Regions from separate parts of the Homo sapiens genome. Here regions 2, 3 and 4 are each linked to region 1. Evidence: promoter capture Hi-C in human tissues and cell types (Jung and others, 2019). All regions are on one chromosome and are shown on one strand. Each heading gives the region's core, a stretch centred on a gene start or on the middle of the fragment in contact. The rest is flanking DNA. Distances are from core to core; before and after follow the strand shown. Region 1 holds the start of TAB1 (TGF-beta activated kinase 1 (MAP3K7) binding protein 1). Region 2 overlaps TNRC6B (trinucleotide repeat containing adaptor 6B). Region 3 has its middle 3.2 kb from the start of SUN2. Region 4 holds the start of CBX6 (chromobox 6).

The links. The method cuts DNA at HindIII sites, captures the fragments that hold promoters and counts their contacts. A contact is called where the count stands out against the background at its distance.
Region 2: a contact is called between a fragment that was not itself captured here and the fragment with the promoter of TAB1 in region 1, in 1 of the 25 tissues and cell types used here (bladder).
Region 3: a fragment that was not itself captured here is called in contact with the fragment with the promoter of TAB1 in region 1 in 1 of the 25 tissues and cell types used here (dorsolateral prefrontal cortex).
Region 4: the fragment with the promoter of CBX6 here is called in contact with the fragment with the promoter of TAB1 in region 1 in 1 of the 25 tissues and cell types used here (hippocampus).

The regions. Positions count from the first base shown.
Region 1 is chr22:39,398,153-39,401,541 of GRCh38, reverse strand. It overlaps TAB1 (TGF-beta activated kinase 1 (MAP3K7) binding protein 1), which reads right to left and starts at 1,762. Exons shown (of 11, transcript NM_006116.3): 1 at 1,707-1,762. The coding sequence starts at 1,739. RefSeq lists a silencer at 1,404-1,543 and an enhancer at 1,704-1,823. The HindIII fragment of the contact is 8,049 bases long and covers 1-3,389 here.
Region 2 is chr22:40,309,413-40,312,801 of GRCh38, reverse strand. TNRC6B (trinucleotide repeat containing adaptor 6B) reads right to left here. Exons shown (of 23, transcript NM_001162501.2): 17 at 1,809-1,985; 18 at 151-297. Among named protein-coding and RNA genes, the nearest start is that of ADSL, 35 kb to the left of the region's middle. The HindIII fragment of the contact is 7,129 bases long and covers 1-3,389 here.
Region 3 is chr22:38,757,520-38,760,908 of GRCh38, reverse strand. No RefSeq gene overlaps it. Among named protein-coding and RNA genes, the nearest start is that of SUN2, 3.2 kb to the right of the region's middle. RefSeq lists enhancers at 1-38, 1-693. The HindIII fragment of the contact is 9,654 bases long and covers 1-3,389 here.
Region 4 is chr22:38,870,949-38,874,337 of GRCh38, reverse strand. It overlaps CBX6 (chromobox 6), which reads left to right and starts at 2,122. Exons shown (of 5, transcript NM_014292.5): 1 at 2,122-2,216; 2 at 2,393-2,436; 3 at 2,581-2,646; 4 at 2,792-2,858. The coding sequence starts at 2,148. RefSeq lists enhancers at 1-979, 816-1,365, 1,366-1,916 and silencers at 1,911-2,170, 2,201-2,350, 2,451-2,500. The HindIII fragment of the contact is 23,948 bases long and covers 1-3,389 here.

The DNA of each region.
Region 1 (3,389 bases), core at 513-3,012:
CTCAGCAAGCCAACTCAGCCTGCACCATTTACAATTTTCCCTCCCAATGTCACAATCCAACCAGCGTTTCCCAAATGCTAACTAGAGTGGGGACAGTTATACAGGGACCTTGCCCTCTGGGAACTTACAAAGCAGAGGGCCAGCCGTCTAAAATCAATGCCAACTCGGTAACAAGACAGACGTGCCCAGCAGTAATAAAATAAAGGAGTAGTAAAGGTGTGGAGGGGAAGACAGCAATCCCCACTGGGGAGGCCTGGGAACTGTGCTCCTGGGAGAATAATTTCAAGGCTCTGGTTCCAGGTTATCCCTGAGCCAATGTCTACTCACCTCTGTGACGCCAAGGGCGAGCACTGGACCTGGCTACAAACCTTTACTCATCCTTTCACAAATGTATTTATTGAGTGCCCAGCACATGGTGATAGATAATAGAGACACAGCGGTAAACAAGAGATCACAGGTCCCTGTCCTCAAGGAGTTTACTTTCGTTTTTTTTTTTTTTTTTTTTTTGAGACACAGTCTCGCTCTGTCGCTCCAGGCTGGAGTGCAGTGGCCCGATCTTGGCTCGCTGCAAGCTCCGCCTCCTGTGTTCAAGCTAATTCTCCTGCCTCAGCCTCCCGAATAGTTGGGACTACAGGCGCCCCCACCACGCTCGGCTAATTTTTGTATTTTTAGTAAAGACGGGGTTTCACCATGTTGGCCAGGATGGTCTTGATCTCCTGACCTCGTGATCCACCCGCCTCAGCCTCCCATAGTTCTGGGATTACAGGCATGAGCCACCGCGCCCGGCGGAGTTTACTTTCTAGTACAGGAGGCAGACAAGTCCATAGACAATTCTAACAGTGCCATGCATAGGAAGGACCCAGGAGGCCAGCACCCTACCCTGGTAGGTCAGAGTAGTCCATGGTGCCAACATGTGTGTGCATCTATGTGCACATACGCGTCAGAGGACGCAGGGCCTGGAAGACAGCGCCAAACCCATGAGGGTCCAGACCGGGGGTAGGGATGAGTCTGAAGACAATTCTTCCACTCAGCGCTCTCGCCTTAGGAGAAGGAAACTGAGGCTGAGGGAGACACAGTCAGAGCCAGGACCAGAACCCAGTGACAGCTACCACTGGTCATTCCTTTAGTACAGCCCAGGGGTTAAGGGGGTTTCTGGAATCACACTGCCTGATTTTAATCCTGCCTCAATACGTACCATTTGTGTGGCCTTAGGCAAACGACCACCTCAGTGTCTCAGTCTGTCAAATAGGAATAACAGTAGCACCTATCTCAGGGGGCTGCTACGAAAATGAAACTGACAAATGTAAAGCAATTAACACAACGCCGGGGATGCAGTAAGCGGTACACTGTGGATGCTGCTGTTATTATCATTGCACGTCTGCTCGGTGTCGCAGTGGGCTCGAGACTCGGATAGCTCTGCTGCCGCCCGCCGTGTTCCCTTCTGGCTCCAGGACGCTCCCGCCCTCGACGCCCGGCAGCAGCAGCCCACAGCCCCGGCGCCCTTGACCCGGGGGCCGGGCCCGCCGCGCACACACGCCCTGGCCTCGGGAACGAGGGGGCCAGCCCGAGGAGAGGAGAAGGTGGCTGACACACCCCACCACGGAGAGGGTGGCTGTCCAAACTCGGAGAAGGAGCCGTTCCTGCACCCGACAGCACCCCCGCCCAGGCTCCCAACCCCAAGCCCAGAGAGCGGGCCTGTTCCTCACACTCTGCAGCAAGCTCCTCCTCTGCGCCGCCATCTTGGAGGAACCCCTGCGGGAGCGCCCGCCTCCCCGCAGAGCAGCGAGTGGGGCGGCTAGAGCGGCCCGAAGGAGGCGAGGATGACCGCGCTGCCGGGGAGCATGCGCCCAGCGCCACCCCACGCCCGAAGAGGGATGGGGGTCGTAGCGGACCGTGTGCGCAGGCGCGCTCTTGCACGTTTTGTTGTTGTTGTTGTTGTTGTTGTTTTGTTTTGTCTTTTCCTCGGGGCCGATTGCTCCTCGCCCATCTTTATTATTTTTTGAGATAGGGTCTCACTCTGTCACCCAGGCTGGAGTGCAGTGGCGCGATCACAGCTCCCTGCAACCTCTGCCTTCCGGCCTCAAGCGATTCTCCTTCCTCAGCTTCCCGAGTAGCTGGGATTACAGGTGCCCGCCTCTCCTGCCCCAGCCTCCGGAGTAGCCGGGACTACAGGCATGAGCCACCACGCCCGGCTAATTTTTGTATTTTTAGTAGAAACGGGGTTTCGCCATGTTGGCCAGGCTGGTCTTGAACTCCTGAGGGTTCTTTGTGAACACAGTTGGTAAGGGGAGGACAATTCATTCACTCAGCAAATGCTACCTAGGTGACCCTGCTTGGCTCTATAGTGGGTTCTGCAGCGAGCAGGACAGGCCTTCAAAAAGCTAACATTTTATTTTATTTTATTTCATTTCATTTTATTATTATTTTATGTTATGTTATGTTATGTTATTTTTGAGACGGAGGCTTGCTCTGTCGCCCAGGCTGGAATGCAGTGGCGTGATCTGGACTCACTGCAACCTCTGCCTCCCGGGTTGAAGCGATTCTCCTGCCTCAGCCTCCCGAGTAGCTGGGGTTACAGGCGCCCGCCACCACGCCCAGCTAATCTTTTACATTTTTTGTAGAGACGGAGTACCGCTATGTTGGCCAGGCTGGTCTCAAACTCCTGGCCTAAAACGATTCTTCTGCCTGGGCCTCCCAAAGTGCTGGGATTACAAGTGTGAGCCACCCCGCCCAACCTAAAATGTTAACATTTTAATTGGAGAGGACAACATTTATGTATATAAGACATTCTGCCGGGGGCAGGCGCGGTGGCTCATGCCTGTAATCCCAGCACTTTGGGAGGCCGAGGCCGGTGGATCACCTGAGGTCAGGAGTTCGAGATCAGTCCAGCCAACATGGTGAAACCCCATCTCTACTAAAACTACAAAAAATTAGCCAGGCATGGTGGTGCACGCCTGTAATCCCAGCTACTTGGGAGGCTGAAGCAGGAGAATCACGAACCTGGGAGGTGGAGGTTGCAGTGAGTGAGCTGAGATCACTCCACTGCACTCCAACCTGGGCAACAGAGTGAGACTCTGTCTTAAAAAAAAAAAAAAAAAAAGCACACTTGTCACGGGAGCCCACTGTGGCTTGCACAGAGTTGGAGGAGAGAGATGAAGGGGTTGTAGGGACAGGCTCTGACCAAGTGGGCCCCAGGCAGGAGTTTATTCATCTGGAGGACAGAGGGAAGTTGTTGCCTTCTAAGCAAGCCATTGACAGGGTCCCATTGGTAGAGAGATGTTTGACTCCCAGGTTCAAGCGATTCTCCTGCCTCAACCTCCCAAGTAGCTGGGATTACAGGCATGCGCCACCACGTCTGGCTAATTTTGTATTTTTAGTAGCGATGGGGT
Region 2 (3,389 bases), core at 494-2,993, 910 kb before region 1:
CAAAATATGTCTAACAAATAAAAGTGAAAAGCAATCTTTTTACATTTTTTGGTTAAACTTTTAGGTACCAGCAAGTACAAATGAAGTCACAAACTGACAACTATGAAAATGCTGGGTGTTGAACATATAAGAGATGCTTTGCTCAAGTACCTGTGGTGTTATCCCGCAGCAGTTGGTGGTCAGTATCTACAATGGGAGATGTGGCTGTACCCCCCAGCACACTTCCTGGGGTGACATAGGGGTCAGATTCAGGGTCAATGTTTTGGATACCTTTCCATGGCACTCCTGGTTGGAATTCTGAGACAAGGAAAACAAATATTAGAGAAGGAAGGTCGTTAAAAAAAAATGATATAGTACTTTTTTTGACATAAGAAATGGGTCTGTGAAAAGTATAAATACTGAATTTATTGTCTCTTAGATTTTCATCACAAAATTAAGGAAAAAAAAATCACCATGAACATACTCTTGCCAACAGCACCTTTGTTTTATCACACTGTCTGTGGCAGTCAACTGGAAGCCACAGCTCATCAGAGCCTGTCCCCAGTAACCTGATCCTCCTGCTCCCAGGAGACTTCAGGGCTGAAGGCAGGGAAAGCAGGAGTAAGGACTCTGGTGTTCACAAGAATCATCCCAGCATCTAGGCCAAGAACCGGTGAAAATATGGGCTAGAGATCAGTGCTCTTTCTCATTTTCCTTACGAGATGTTGGCCAAAATGCAAAAAATGTAATACAAATGATACTGCTACACAGAATGTCCAGGGATAACCAGCAGGGATAATTTAGCTTAGCAAAAGAAAGCCTAGAATATACATAAGGGCTCGGAATTTTTTTATTGGTCAATTTAAATCATTTTAAAATTTTAAGGCTATGTGACACAATAAACTTTTATTTTCCAAATCGTGATGAGAAAGAGCAATGTGTATTATATATGAACGATCTGCATTATACAGTTCTACTTTGGCCGGGCGTGGTGGCTCACGCCTGTAATCCCGGCACTTTGGGAGGCCGAGGCGGGCAGATCACCTGAGGTCAGGAGTTTGAGAACAGCCTGTCCAACATGGCGAAACCCTGTCTCTACTAAACATACAAAAAATTAGCCAGGCGTGGTAGCAGGCGCCTGTAATCCCAGGTACTTGGGAGGCTGAGGCAGGAGAATCGCTTGAACCTGGGAGGCAGAGCTTGCAGTGAACCAAGATCGCACCACTGCACTCCAGCCTGGGTAATAAGAGCAAAACTCCCTTTCAAAAAAAAAAAAAAATTCTACCTTAATAAAACGAAACTATACATATTCATGTCACAAATACGCATGCACAGAAAGAGGTCTAGGAGGATATATATTTATGGAATTACTGATTTTAATTTTTGCTTTATTAAATGTTCTCATTTTTCTATCATGAGAATAGATTACTATATCCAACAAAAGGGAGGGACAGAAAGAAAAGAATTAACAAATAATCTCATTGCAATCGCTACTGCATACCTAGAAGCTAACTGGTAATACACACTTGCCTAAGAACTAACAAATCAATTCAACAGACACTTCAAAAGAACCCATGTTACAAGGCATCCTATGCATGGGACGAATGCAAAGTCCCACCTACAATGTCACTTATCCCCAGATTCCCCATCTAATGAAAATTTTCTATCTTCCCACAGCACATGCCTTGCTTCTAACAGACAATTATTGAATGAAAAAAATAAAAGCAAGTACCTTAGTAACATGAATCACAAAAGCAATGTATTCTGAACCTGAAACTGACAATTACAAAACAAATGCTATCCTGGGAAAAGCATTTCCTAGACAATACCTGGAGGCCAACTGGCATTGCTGGATTTACTTCCGATTTTATTTGTTGGTGGAGATTTGGCAGGTAACCAGCTATCACCAGCAGGACCCGTATGGCCACCCAGTGTGTCACCAGGGATGATATCAAACTGGTTGTACGGTGACCCTCCCCGGGTTTTACCAGGGGCCACTATAGCGCCTGAGAAAAGAGAGGAAATTAAATCATCCAGAATAACTCCTATGAATAGAACTTGTCTATTTTTTATTCGCTGGAATGCAAACAGTCTTCTGAAGCTGATGGAGTATATACAAACAGCACTGGAATAAGAGGTTGCATTCGAGACTCAGCACAGAATTACTAAGCAGCATGACCAACAACAAGTCATTTCGCCTCTCTGAGCCTCTCAGTTCCTCACTTAGGCACACAGGATTGTTCTCATGCTTGAATGTTCCTTTCAGTTTTAAAATTCCATGGTCTTATGAAATTAATGAAACGTTCACATACTAGGAATCTGACCATTATCCCTAGTTTCTATGCTAACGACTCAAGAGTGAGAAATGGGGAAAATTCTAACCATTTGTAGCACATAAGAAGGTTTTAACTAAATTTCTACTGATGCTATCCACCCAGGTTCTTAAGGGCTGGCTGATCAGGCTTAGATTAGCTGGAAGCAGCAGTGTAAACAGAGAGTCCATTGGAGGGAAAAGCATCTGCAATTGCTTTAAATTCCAACGCAATGAGATGGAATTCCCGCCTAGGGTCTTTGCCAGCACAAGACCAGCAATGAACTCTGCAGCTCTGGGATCCGTGGCCTCACACATGAAGAACAGCAAATCCTTTGTAACTGGTTTCCTGAGAGCACTTCAGTGGTTTTGTCGCTGCCCCCATCATGCATTTTATATGCTATGGGGCAGGAAAATAATTAAAAGCTTAAAATTACCTTGAACTAACAGAACATGCACTTTGAATAAAATTTTAGGTATCAGTGAGATACCAGTCTACTTATTTCTCAAATGAATTTTACATACTATATTGGGTCACTTGATCTATTCTTAGGATGCTGCTTGTGAAGGGATAAAATTATTTCCAGGGTGATGCAGCCTAATGGGAATATTATCAAAACTACCTCCATACTCAGGCTAAGAGGGCATTTACTTTTCTGGAGCCACTGACAAATCTGGCTCAGAGGCACATTATGGTGAAGCAGTGGAAAATGACAAGCTCAATTACTTTGGGGATTGCTAAGGAAATGGGAAAACATGATCTATAAGCTCTAAAAAGGCAAGTAGAGATTTTGCCTTTGAGATATCCTCTCACATGCCATTTCAGATTTATTATCATGCACCTATCATGTCTTTGGGGACAAGGGGACCTGGTGAATCATCAGCCTAAGGAAGCATTGAAAGTGCCCAAAGCTGTAGATATCAGTGGGCTTAGATTATTCAGTCCACAAACAGATTTTACAATTTCAATAAATCATTTTTGACTTCATGCCATGAAACCAAATGATAATGCTTAGGGATGGCAGGCAGAGAGCTCCACGTGGGCATTTCACCAGCCTCCTGGATGGGCTTATTAAAGAGTGGTTTATAAAGGAAACCT
Region 3 (3,389 bases), core at 322-2,821, 640 kb after region 1:
TTACTCCCCCTGCTCTACAGACAAAAAAGCCAAGACCAGAGCAGGGGTTGGGGGCTGCAGCCCTGCAGGAGGGAGAGGTGGGTAGACCGGGGAGTTTTTACTGGGGTCGGGGGCACTCGGGTTGTGCTATGGCGTTCCAGCTAGCCCAAGGGACAGAGCTGGAGGTTGCAGTGACAGGGCTGGATGGCCAGAGGCGGCTCTGCCAGCTGTCTCCACGCAGGGGGCCTGGTTCATCTGGCAGCTTCCCCACCAGTGAGCTGAGCGCTCTCGCTGCTATCCCCTCTGCCTGGTACTCTTGTCCCCTCTGTCCCCGGCTCCTCCTCTTGCCCTTTCTTTCTCCAGAGGTCTCTTTCTCCAGCAGCTTCTCTGACTCCCCAAGTCTGGTTACGAGAGTCAGGGCCAGACCAACTCTCCACTAGGCACAGCAGGCCCAGGGCCAGGGCCATGAATTTTCAGGGGCCGACATAAATGTTTTAATTATTTGTTTAATCAGAAGGGAAAAAAATGGATATAACCTAGCCGGCTTGTGGATACTGACATAGTTGCAAAACACAATACTTAATACTTTTTCTGGAGGAGGGGGCCCATGAAAGTCACACTGGGTCCCTTTGAGCCCTGTGTCCCTCCTGGGCACGAGTCTGAAGTGTTGTGATGATCGGCTCACATGACTGCCTTCTCCACCAGACAGTGGGCCCCGGGAGGGCAGGGGCATGTCTTACATTGTCAGAACAGGCAAGCGGTAAGTATTTGCTAAATAAATAAATGCTTATAAATAAAAAAAAAATAGCCTTGATTGCTAGTTAGTGACAGTTAGCAATCCTTGCCCAGGGCCAGGCACTGTACTGAGCTCCCATGACACAGACACATTGATATCATCCCCGTTTTACAGATGAGGACATCAAGACAATGAAAGGTTAAACCTGCCCACGTCGTTCACCAGGAGTGTCTGCATTCCAAGCCTGCTCTCTGGACCACTGGCCCAGAATGTCCCCACAGAAGGTGGAGCACCTGGTGGATGTATGAAGAGGCTGAGTCCAGGAGGAACACCCTGGACATGGGGCAAGCAGGCTATGTCAGCCCCTGAGTTCTGGCCCATGGATCGGTGCCCTCGGGAGCTCCAGCGCTGCCCCAGCCTCCCTTGTGAGTGTACAGCCAGCTCAGGCCTTCCTCCATGTGGGCAGCACACACTCAGCCAGCTACTGTGCTCAGGGTGTTGGTGACAATGACGGCTAATTGGAGCTTACACCTACCGAGTGCCAGCTGACTGCAACCTCTGCCTGCCGGGTTCAAGCAATTCTCTTGCCTCAGCCTCCCAAGTAGCTGGGATTATAGGCATATACTACCATGCCCAGCTAATTTTTTTGTATTTTTAGTAGAGACAGGGTTTCACCATATTGGCCAGGCTGGTTTCGAACTCCTGACCTCAGGGGATCTGCCTGCCTTGGCCTCCCAAAGTGCTGGGATTCCAGGCATTCATCACTGCACCCGGCCAAAAGATTAGAATGTCATCAGGCAGAGAAACAAGGAAAGGCGTTCCAGGCTGAGGCACAGCCTGAGTAAGGGCTCAGGAGTAGGAGAGGCCTTGGGGTGAGGCCCCAGGAGTGCAGGTGAGGCCTGCAGGAGATCTGCGTCTGCAACCACACTGGGGAGCTGGTGATTTAAGACTGGGAAGCTGCAGTCAGGCAGTCGCTCGATGAACGTTTATTGAGCATTTATTAGGAGCCAGGTACTGTAATAGGTGTGGGGGACAGAGGTGACTAAGGCACAGTCACCCATAAGAGTCTGGCCAAATCTCTGCATGCCTAAGACTGTCCCCCTCAGTCAGGGACCCACGTTGTGTTCCTGGCACCCTAGCTGACCCACTTTGTAACCTGGATCCCACGCCTGCACTCCTCAGAGTAGCCTTCTTCCATAAAATGAGTTTAACTGCGGTTGTCACCTGGTGATGGAGCTCTTTGAGCTCTTAGGATGAAAGATTCTGTAAATACGCAGCCTTTGTCACCAGACTGGGTGGGGTGGAATAGGGAGCCCACATCAGATCCCCAAGGGTGCAGAGAAACAGCCCCCGGGAGTTGGAGGGAGGGTCGGTCGCCAAGCTCCCCTGAGGTTACCGCCCTCTGACAGCTGCCAAGCGAGTTCCTGCAGCCAGAATGCCTGACATGAAAGTCCCCCGCCCCCGCCAAGGCCTGCCTGTGATGGTTAAATGACAGACGCCGACACCCTGGCTGCTGACTGATGCTGACAGCAGGGAGGGAGATGTGGAGCTGGCCTGGGTTGCAGGCAGGTGACTGGAGGCTCTTCCTTAACTCGTGTTCATAGGACGCTGAACACCCACCACGACCTGTCACTGTCCAGTGTCCATGGGGGAGGCAGACAGGCACACAGCACATTCCACCATCACGTGGGGTGTTAGAGGGGAGGCCCTGCTCTCTGGCAGCACAGAGAAGCCCACCTGACAGATGATGGGTCCAGGACAAACCAAGGGCCCAACCTCCTCCCGTCTCCCCGCAAAGATCATGGTGATAAAACCCCTTTGGGATGAAGTAGTTCAGAAGTCCTTTGCCCATGTGACCCTCATGCAAGAGAAAATGAAGGCCAGAGAGCCCCATTGACTTGTCCAAGGCCACAGAGCTCATTGGTGTGGCACACAGGACACTTATTATTATTCTGATTCCTTGGCTTGTGGCTTCATCACTCCAATCTCTTCCTCCATGGTCACATTGCCCTCTGCTCGTCTTCTCTGCCTCTCTTTGGTTTTTTGTTTGTTTTGAAACAGAGTCTTGCTCTGTCACCCAGGCTGGAGTGTGGTGGCTTGATCTTGGCTCACTGTGGCCTTGACTTCCCAGGCTCAAGCTATCCTCCCACCTCAGCCTCCTGAGTAGCTGGGATTACAGGTACACACCACCATGCCCAGCTAATTATTTTCTTTTTTTGTTTTTCTTTTTTAGAGATGGGTGGTGGGGGGGGGGGGTCTCACTAATTTGGCCAGGCTGGTCTCAAACTCCTGAGCTCAAGCAATCCACCTGCCTCAGCCTCTCAAAGTGCTGGGATTACAGGCGTGTGCCACAGTGCCCAGCCCCTATCTTTCTCTTAAAGGGTTACTTGTGTTACACTTAGGGCCCACCCTGATAATCTAGGATAATCTCATTTCAAAATCTTTAGTCACATCTGCAAAGTCTTTGCATGTAGATAACAGTCACAGATTCCAAGCATTAGTACCGAATTCCTGTAGCGACCATTATTCTGCCTGCTCCCAGCCCCCAGAGGATGCAGAGTTTAAGAGGGGCCTGCCTTCAGTCAGCCTGTGGGCATGAGCCTCACATATCCACTCAGCACATCCTGGGAGGGGACCTGGACTCCCCCCCGACCCCAGCAAGGCCAGACCCCCC
Region 4 (3,389 bases), core at 873-3,372, 530 kb after region 1:
CTTGACCCTCCAAAAAGGGACCAGCCCTGAGGATACCTTCACTTGGGCCCAGTAACACTGATTTGGGACTTCCCGCCTCCAGAGTCATCAGATAACAAATGTGAGTCATTTTAAGCCACTGAGCTTGTGTTAATTTGTGAGAGCAGCAACACGAAACTCCTACACCTTTATTCTAGCATTAGTCACACTGTGTGACAGGTGCCGTTCTCACTCCACTGACAGCTCCTCAGCCTGGGGCACCTTTGTTTCCTGATGGTTTCACACAAAGCCTGGTGCTTCACAAGGGCTCACAAACACTGCTGAATGAATCAACAAGTGGACTCACCTGCTTCATCCCCCGCCTGTCTCCGTCAGCCTGAACACACACACACTGTCATACCCACTCCTCTCACCTGCTCACCCACCACCACCCACATCTCCCAGGAGGACATTTCTATTTTTACCACAGCAGCTCACCTTGGGCTGGCCAGCAAATAGCTGTTTCCCTGGAACATACTGATTTTAAGTGAGGAGAGGGATTTCTCTCAAGGTAATAATTGGACAAATCTGCTGGGAGAAAAAGACTAACATTTTGCTATGGTGGATTTGAAACCCAAGAATTGGCATTGTAGCACAGAAACGCAAAAATCTTTCCTAATGAGCCATTGATGTTCGCAAGACACAACCCTGACTCTTCACAATCCCCATTCCTCCCCACCCCATCTCAGCCCCAAGGTGGTCACTGGAAGGATGGTGAAATCTGTATTTAATGACACTGAAAGATGTCCACTTTATAGCATTAAGGGAGAAAAGCAGATTCCAGAACAGTGTGAATAGCGTGATCCCATTTTGTTAAAAAATTAAATCTACAGACAATGTGTATGTGTATGTATATACATACATACATAGGTGTACGTGAGTTTATGTACGCATAGAGCAGAGGCTGGAAGATTGGTGAAGATGTTAACAATGGTTTTATGGGGGTTATGGACAGTTGTTTTATCTGTATTTTTAAAATTGTTTTACAAAGAACAAGACTACTAACATAATGGGAAATAAAGTTCAAGTAATTTCAACATTTAAAAAGTGGAGCGTTTTGCGCGGCAGGGCTATTTTTTGTGTGTCCGTTCCTGGACAGCCCCAGCTCGATCCCCCGCCCCTCCTCAAGTGGGAAGCTGGGATCTGGGCTCCCCAGAGCAATGGCGGAAGCTTCGCGCAGCTGCGGGCGGGGAGAGGGACGCGGCCAGGTCGGGGGGCCGGGAGGGGTGCTGGGAATCGGAAAACACAGATATGACCGCGAAGGCGGTTTCTGCCGAATGACCAGATGATGACCCGCTGTGGGCCCAAGGCGGAGTGCGGGGAGCCCGTTCCTGCCCGCGGTCCCTCTCCCTCCCCCACTGCCACACCGGCCCCGCCGAATCCTCCCCGGTCTCCTGGGCGAGGACAGGTGCCGCCCGAGACCCCGGCCGCAGACAGATGCCCACGGTCACTCCGGCCTTCCTCGGCCCCATTCGCCGCACACCCCCTTCCTGCGGTGGCGTTTTTGTTTTAACTCTTCTGAACTGGTTACAAAACCACCCTCCCACGAATACATAAATAATGGGTGGGGGGCGATGTTTTAAAGAAATTCCCGCAAGGCCTGGCAAGGCAACAGCAACTGCATTTCTGCTGCATCATATTTAACTGTTTGCAGGCTGCTGCGGGAGATGCGCGGTGGCGGCGAGACTCGGGCTCCACAGCCCTTCTCCGCCCGGGGCCTGGCGAGACTCGCGTGGGGATTAAGAGGCAAGGAGAGGGTGTCAGCGATCGGGCGCCGGCAAGATGTGAGGGGGGGTGATAAGCGTAAGGCCGCAGCGTGCCCACAAGCCGGGCACCCATCGGGTCGGCCGGCAATTGCTCCCTCCGCCCGCGCGGCCCCTTTAAGAGCCAGCGCGCGCCCCCGCCCCGCGAGCGCCGACTTTCCCTAGCAACCGCCCCGGGGGAGGGGGAGGTCCTGGCAACCGCGCGCCAGCCGCGAGGATCACGTGACGGCCCGCAGCTGGAACGCGAGCGCGCGCCCCGCCGCGCTCCCGCCCGCCGGGGCCTGGGCGCTGCGGCGCGTGCGCGAGCGGTGCCGCACCGGCCGCGGGCGCAGGGAGTATTATGGGCTGTGGGTGCCGCTGAGCAAGATGGAGCTGTCTGCAGTGGGCGAGCGGGTCTTCGCGGCCGAATCCATCATCAAACGGCGGATCCGAAAGGTGAGCCGCCGCCCGGGGCGGGCCGCCGCTGTCCGCAGCCGGGGCCGGGGCCGGGGGCCCTCGGGGCGAAGCGGTCCCGCTAGCCCGGCTCCCTCGCCCAGCCCCGCGCCGCCGCCTCCTCGCGTCCCCGCATCCTCCCCACCCCCACCCCCGTTTTTCTCCCCTCTGTTTTTCAGGGACGCATCGAGTACCTGGTGAAATGGAAGGGGTGGGCGATCAAGTGAGTGTCGCGGGGTCCGGGGGCGTCGCGGGAGGGGAGGCAGCGGGCACCGGGGCCTGGGGTGGGGGTGCGCGCTCTTGCTCTCGCCGCGTGCCTGTCCCTCTCTGGTCTTCATCCTGATTTTGTGCGTTTGTGACTCGGCAGGTACAGCACTTGGGAGCCCGAGGAGAACATCCTGGACTCGCGGCTCATTGCAGCCTTCGAACAAAAGTGAGTTGTTGGGGAAGCTGGCAGGGGCTGCGAGGCCGAGGCTCGGCTGGGGCGCCGCGCGGGGAAGCGGGAGAGCCGGGGAGGGCAGCGCGGAGTGGGGCCCGGGAAGGGGCTCTTTTTAACCTCTGGTGTTTTTCGGCCGCAGGGAGAGGGAGCGTGAGCTGTATGGGCCCAAGAAGAGGGGACCCAAACCCAAAACTTTCCTCCTGAAGGTAACCTGGCCCAGCCCCAGCAGCATCCCCCTCTCGGGCCCCCAGCCCCGGCACAGCACGGGGCCTGGAAGGGAGGGACAGATACGCGGCCGCCCAAGCGGGCCGGCCTTTTCAGAGGGGCCCCAGCTGGGCAGGGGGTGGTTGTGAGCCCCCCCAGAAGCCCCTGATGGCAGGCCTCAGCCAGCATCAGCTTCAACAAGAGGGTTTTGGGACTGGGGATAATCCTCCCTGTTGAAACCAGGGGCTGGGGATGCCTTTAGGGCTCCAGGAAAGGGGGTGGCTGAGGCAGGTGGGGGATGCCCATGGGAAGGGGGCATTTGTTTGAGCTGTTATGACTGTGCTGGGAGTTGGAACCCAGGGGGAGAGTGAGTGGGGTCCCACCTCCTGGCAGGGCACAAGGAGAGGATTTGGGGGACCACCTGCCTCCCTGCCCCCAGCTTCCCCCGTTCAGTCTTTCAGGATTTGTTCTTCATGGCTCCCCTCCTTTCTTGGGGATCCAACTTGAATTTGACCTCAAATCATTTTACTTTG